Linked DNA regions of Homo sapiens: region 2 is linked to region 1. Evidence: promoter capture Hi-C in human tissues and cell types (Jung and others, 2019). All regions are on one chromosome and are shown on one strand. Each heading gives the region's core, a stretch centred on a gene start or on the middle of the fragment in contact. The rest is flanking DNA. Distances are from core to core; before and after follow the strand shown.

The links. The method cuts DNA at HindIII sites, captures the fragments that hold promoters and counts their contacts. A contact is called where the count stands out against the background at its distance.
Region 2: a contact is called between a fragment that was not itself captured here and the fragment with the promoter of CDIP1 in region 1, in 1 of the 25 tissues and cell types used here (dorsolateral prefrontal cortex).

Annotation. Positions count from the first base shown.
Region 1 is chr16:4,537,035-4,540,256 of GRCh38, forward strand. CDIP1 (cell death inducing p53 target 1) reads right to left here and starts at 1,739. Exons shown (of 6, transcript NM_013399.3): 1 at 1,668-1,739. It also overlaps a transcript of C16orf96 not described here. RefSeq lists silencers at 1,136-1,355, 1,366-1,655. The HindIII fragment of the contact is 9,452 bases long and covers 1-3,222 here.
Region 2 is chr16:3,772,218-3,775,284 of GRCh38, forward strand. It overlaps CREBBP (CREB binding lysine acetyltransferase), which reads right to left. Exons shown (of 31, transcript NM_004380.3): 12 at 2,352-2,476; 13 at 1,534-1,713. Among named protein-coding and RNA genes, the nearest start is that of TRAP1, 56 kb to the left of the region's middle. The HindIII fragment of the contact is 3,238 bases long and covers 1-3,067 here.

The sequences.
Region 1 (3,222 bases), core at 489-2,988:
GACGGATTTCTAAATACCCAGGGCTTCCATTAAGGTAAAAACCATTAAGAAGATAAAAAAGTCAAACCCAATAAACAACAATTCTAAGACTCTAATTAATGACATGCATGCTTATTTGGGAGGGAAAGGCACTGATATCTGCAACTTACTTTGACACAAAAAACAAGAGGGACTGCTGGTTGGACAAATATGTGATGAAATACAATAAAGTGTTAACTCTACATTCTAGGTGGTGGTCTGTGGGTGTTCACTGTAAAATTCCTTCAACTTTTGTATGTTTCACGTTTTTCGTAACTGAATGTGTAGAGGGGGAGTCTTCTGAGACTGGCAAGTGACTGGGCATAACCTTTCCGATTAAGGGCAGAGGGCAAGGCAGAGCTGGCACGCCTCCCTCCACCCAGTTCTACCTAGATCGGCCCCAAGGGAAGCAGCAAAGAACCCAGGAGAGCAGTAACTTGCCCGGGCACCGCCCCGCCCAGCATCAGGCCCCAGAATACAGAAGAAACTGGCAGAAACACTATGGAACGTCCCTGCCCCCGGGCCCGCCAACCCCCTCACTGGGACAGGTTCTCAGCCCCAGCTGCGCCCGGGAATGATCTGGGGAGCCTACTAAATGCAGATTCCTGGGCAGCGCGACGGAACTACAGCATCCCAACACCTGGGGTGGGCCCCAGGAATCTGCCCGTTTCCCAAGAGCCCCAGGTGGTTCTGACGCAGAGGATCTTGAGCCCACCTTTGGAGGAACTCACAGCCACTCGCCCCACCTCATCTAACACCTGTTGAGAAGCCCCCCAAGGAACTCGCTAAGCCAAGGTCCTCGAAGGCGCGACTCCTAGCCCCAAGCTAGGCCAGGCCGTCGCCATCTCCGCCGGGGATGCGCGGCCGAGCGCCACATCCCGACTCCACACGTCGGCGAGCCGGGCGCGGGTGCAGGACACTGCTGGGCTCCGGGACGGCCAAGGTCACCCGCGGGGCTCGGCAGGGGCTGGCTCGGCCACGGGGCTCCTCCTCGACCCCCTTTCCTTGAGAAAACAACTCCCACCCCTCCCCTCCCCGTCTCGCCCTGCAAGACGGAGATGGCAATTTCCACAACCTTCCCTGACGGAAAAACGTGCGGGCGAGCAGGCTGCCATTCCGGGCGCACAACCCCGCGGCACACAGCGGGGCGCCCGCCCGGGCCCCGCCACCGCAGCGGCTTCGACATCCCCAGGGCCGCGCTAGGTCTCGGCAGCGCCCTGAGGGGAGGACGGGCCCCGCCATGCCGCGCCCCAACCGCCGGCCCCGCTTTACCTCCAGAAGCCCGGTGCCCGAGGCCGGCCGAAAGCGGAGAGGGGCCCGGGTCCGGACAGGCGCCGGCAGAACAAGACCCTCAGCCCCGCGCGGCTTTGCGCGCACAACGAAACCCCCCAACCCACCGCCCACCCCACCGCCCAGAGGCTTCTAGGACTTGTAGTCCGCCCGGTCACCCCCCCCACCACAACCCGCTCTGAGAGGCTGGGGACTACGGTGCCCGGCATGCACCGCCCAGGCGCCGCGGGCGGGGGCGGGGAGGGGGCGCCACGGTCCGAGGTCACGCCCCGACCTGAGGAGAGCTGGCGCCCAGACCCTTCCCCCGGGGAGGAGGGCTCCCGCGCGAAGCCGTCTCCGAATGCGTCCAGTCGACTCACCGTCCCCGCAGCCCTGGGGCAGCGGCCGCAACAGCAGGACCGAACGCCTCGGCAGCTGGCAGTCGCACTTCTGTCACAAGGAGGCGGGTAGACTTTGGACCAGGGCCGAGGCCCGGGACGTCACGGTGGGGGGTGGGGTCTCGGGAGGCACGTGATGCGCCGTGATGACGTCAGTGGGAGCGGAGGCGATTTGGCCTAGAGCTGGGGCTGAGCACGTGGGATGGTCGGGGCCTGTTTGCCCAATGTACACGAGGCTGGAGAATAGGGAAAGAACCGTCCCTGTGAGCGCCTCCTCTTCACTCATGCCAGCAACAGGGCAGGGCATCTTCCTCCAGGGCTGCATTTTTTCTTTTATGCGACTAATATTTATTGAGTTTGGGAGGTGCATTACATAAAACCTTGAACCACACGGTCACTGTCCCTGCGCTTGAAACTGCCTTTGCAAAAATTACAACAGAAAATTATGACAGTGAAAGAGAGCTGACCTAACCCACTCCATCTTGCTTCTAACCTCCAGGTTGTCCTTGTTCATTCCTAGGCATAGGCAGAACTAACTTTGGGAGCAACTTAGTTTATAGTTTAATATTGAAACAAAGATAGTTAACAGCCCTTTCCCAAAACAAACCCCCTTGTTGCCTGAGAACCAGGCTTCCTTTGTAAGAGTAACACGTTAGCTACAAGATTAGACATTATAGTTTAGGGCCCAGCTCAGTGGCTAACGCCTGTAATCCCAGCACTTTGGAAGGCTGACGCAGGTGGATCACTTGAGGTCAGGAGTTTGAGACCAGCCTGGCCAACATGGTGAAACCATGTCTCTATTTAAAAATACAAAAATTAGCCGGGTATGGTGGCACGCACCTGTAATCCCAACTACTAGGGAGGCTGAAGCCCAAAAATTGCTTGAACCCGAGAGATGGAGGTTGCAGTGAGCTGAGATTATGCCTCTGCACTCCAGCCTGAGCAAGAGACTGAGACTCCATCTCAAAAAAAGAAAGAAAGAAAGAAATTACGGTTTAGGAGTCATGCACCCAGAGGCCACAAGATTCTAAACCTCCCCAGTTGATCCTAGGTATAATATCACTATTGTAAAACCTAAGATTGGTACTCTTAGGTGTTTTTCTGACCCTGCAGTCTGATGCACCAGCCAAGGCCACCTAGAGCTGTAATCTGACTCAACCAGTTCTTGCATCCTTCAACACCCTGTGATTTCATCTCCCACCCCACCAATCAGCACTCCCTACTCCTTGGCAGCTTATCTACCAAATTACCCTTTAAAAACTCTAGGCTCTGAATTTCCAGGGAGACTGATTTGAGTAATGAAACTTTGGTCTCCCATTCAGCCAGCTCTGTGTGGATTAAACTCTTTCTCTATTGCAGTTCCCCTGTCTTGATACATTGGCTCTATCTGGGCAGCCAGGAAGAAGAACCCACTGGGTGGCTACTTGCTCAGGTACTTCCTTTGTTACAGACAGTATACAAGGAAACCACAAAATGCCCAGGACTGTGAAGGAGAGGAAGGGACGCCCTAACAGAGTTACGGGGTGGTGCCACTAGA
Region 2 (3,067 bases), core at 294-2,793, 770 kb before region 1:
ATAAAATAAATAAATAAAAATAAGAATAAAAGTTATTGACCATAAATATATACATCCATAAGTACCCTTAACAATTAAAAATTTAAAAAAAAAATTCTCTCTGAAACACAAACACACACACACACACACACACACACACACACACACACGTTAGTTACTGAAAGAGAACTGTTTCAGTGCAGTGGTTCTATACTGGGGATACACTTCAGAATTATTTGTGAACATTTTAAAAATGATTCTGAATCACTGTTCTAGAGCAGGGGTTGGCAATCTCCCAGGGCAAACACACTGAGCTGCTTGTTTCTGTAAATAAAGCTTTATTGGCACACAGCCACCTCATTTATGTACCACAGCAGCTTCTGCACTACAAGAACAGAAGTGATGAAAACCAAGATTGAATGGCCTGCAAAGCTGAAAATATTTAGTATCTGGCCCTTTACACGAAGTTTGCTAATCCTTGTTCTAGAGAAATGAAATGTTATGGAAAGTTAAGAATAATCATTTAGTGAGGAAATCTAATATATAATAATGACTTATGCAGCATTATTTCACATTAAAAACTCAAAACAAGGCTGGGTACGGTAGCTTACTCCTGTAATCCCAGCACTTTGGGAGGCCGAGGTGGGTGGATCACCTGAGGTCAGGAGATCGAGATCAGCCTGGCCAACATGGTGAAATCCCGTCTCTACTAAAAATACAAAAAAAAAAAAAAAAAAAAAAATTAGCTGGGTGTGGTGGCGGGCATCTGTAACCCCAGGTACTTGGCAGGCTTAGGCAGGAGAATCGCTTGAACCCGGGAGGCGGAGGTTGCAGAGCCGAGATTGTACCACTGCACTCCAGTCTGGGCAACAAAACGAGACCCTGTCTTAAAACAGACAAACAAACAAAAAAAAACTTAAAACAAGAATTTTATCTTTTAGGGAGGATTTGGTGTGTTTTAAATACATGTATATTTTGTATACAGTAGCAATGATACGCACTACAACTAACAAAAGAGGAAAAAAGGAAGGAATAAATGGAAAATCAATTTCTTCAGCTCTAGATTGAGAAATTAAAAACATTTAACAAGAAGGGAACTATTGAAATGATTCTGTTAGCTTGATTTCACCTGGCAGTGGAGACAGGTCAAAAGAAACAAAAGCCAAATCATCAAGAGTGAATTCATGGGTCCTTCTCACTCGCTTTTTAAAATCCTAATGCCTCTCAGGGTCACGTTAAAGTTAGAATTTAAAATACACAAACAAAAAATAAGAAAACAAAAACTCAAAGATCAAAACACAAAAGCATACAAACCAAAAATTCTAAATCCATTCCCACTTTTGCATATAGTTAACCCAGAAAGGATAAGAGAAATTCCAAACGAGTTAAGGACTACAGGACAAAGGTGGAGAAAACAAAGAGAAGCTGATACAAAGACATGAAATGTGCATTCTGGAATTTTAATTTCCACGAAGGAAGACAGAAAAAAAAAACCAAAACTTAACACAAGAATTTTATTTCCTAGGGAGCCACGGTCCCAGTGGGGCACAGTACCTGTGACACGCCTGTTTGGGCTGGCGGCTGCCCCATGCCCACACTCATCGCCCCGCTGGATGACGGGAACTGGTTCTGTGGCAGAAACTGGCTCTGAGCGGGCGCCTGGGCCATCATGTTGTTGGTGTGTGCACCCATCATGTTCGGAGGCTGAGGCATTCGGGAAGGAGAAATGGCCATCTACGAGACAACAAGCACCACCAGAGCTGTAGTTCGGAAGCTGACGGCCAGAGTTTTCAAGGTGAGCCAGAATGATCCAAGGCTTCACAACCCCAGAGGATGGCAAGCACAGGGCTCACATCCTGCCCTTCCTCATGGGAAGAGACCACCACTTGCTAAGAACTCCCGCGCTCCTGGGCACCTTACACACTTTCTCAGGCAATCTCTCAAATGAGCCAGCTTCAAAATGTCCTCTGAATAGAAATCAATAGCAGGCTATAATTTAAAGTTTAAGACATGCCTATGAGTTCTCTAAAGTGTTTAGAAAGCAGCCTCGGAACAGCGAGCTCTCAGTCAACAGATGCTGACAATTCCCTGCTGGCCACATATCTGAGGCTGCCTTCTCCAGCCTTGGAACTCCCACATTCTCACAAAGCCACACATTCCTATGAATTTGTTATTCCAATAAAATAACTAACAGTCAAATAATTCTGTGTAGTAATAATTTTTTTAAAATGAGAGATGAAAGAAATAAAGCATAACCCAAATTCAAAGGAACAAGAACCACAGGATTCTCAAGTGACATGAATTCTGCTGCTTAGATAATGTTCCATGTGAGAGGGAGGGCTATCTGCAGCACAGCGAAAGAGAACACTTACCCCTGGCACTGAGCCCATGCTGTTCATCTGGACAGAGTGGTTCATTGGGGAGGCTGCACGAGGTCCCATGGGTGCTTGTGGCAACTGGACGTTCCCCAAGGACATGGGGTTAAATGAATTCATCCCTGTAAATGTACCCACAACGGTTCATTAGGAAAAGCACCCACAGGAAAACAGAATTACAACTTGCTAAATAAACTCTTAAGTAAAATAAGATGGAACGCACAGGCAACAGAAAACTGAAAAGAAATCACCCAATTAATCAATGAAGATGATGAAGGAACAGACTTCTCCATATCCAGAGAAAACGGCATCAATGTGGGGGTGGTGACGGTGGCATGGTGAGGGGTACCAGGGAAGGACGAGGACATGAAGGCATAAGGTTGGGTAAGACAGGAACAAGTGAGACATTAAACGAGGCTGTGGTAGAGCTGAGCCAGAGGGCACAGTACCAAAGTGTCATAGCAACAAAGAGGGTGAGGAGGTGCCCTGAAAGGACAGCACCCTCACAAGCTACAGAAGAGATGTTTCCAGAGACCAGGGCAAGCTTCTGTGCACACCCATACCTAATGCCTCTGGAGCAGCTGACGCCCATCATCCGAGGATTCCCAGCTCCTTGCTGGGTTTACATTCATTGTTAGAATCTGTGCTAAGTCTCCAAATGTTCTTTTAATTTTGCAAGCACCTTAAGCATTAAGAAGTGCCCAAGGGTCAGC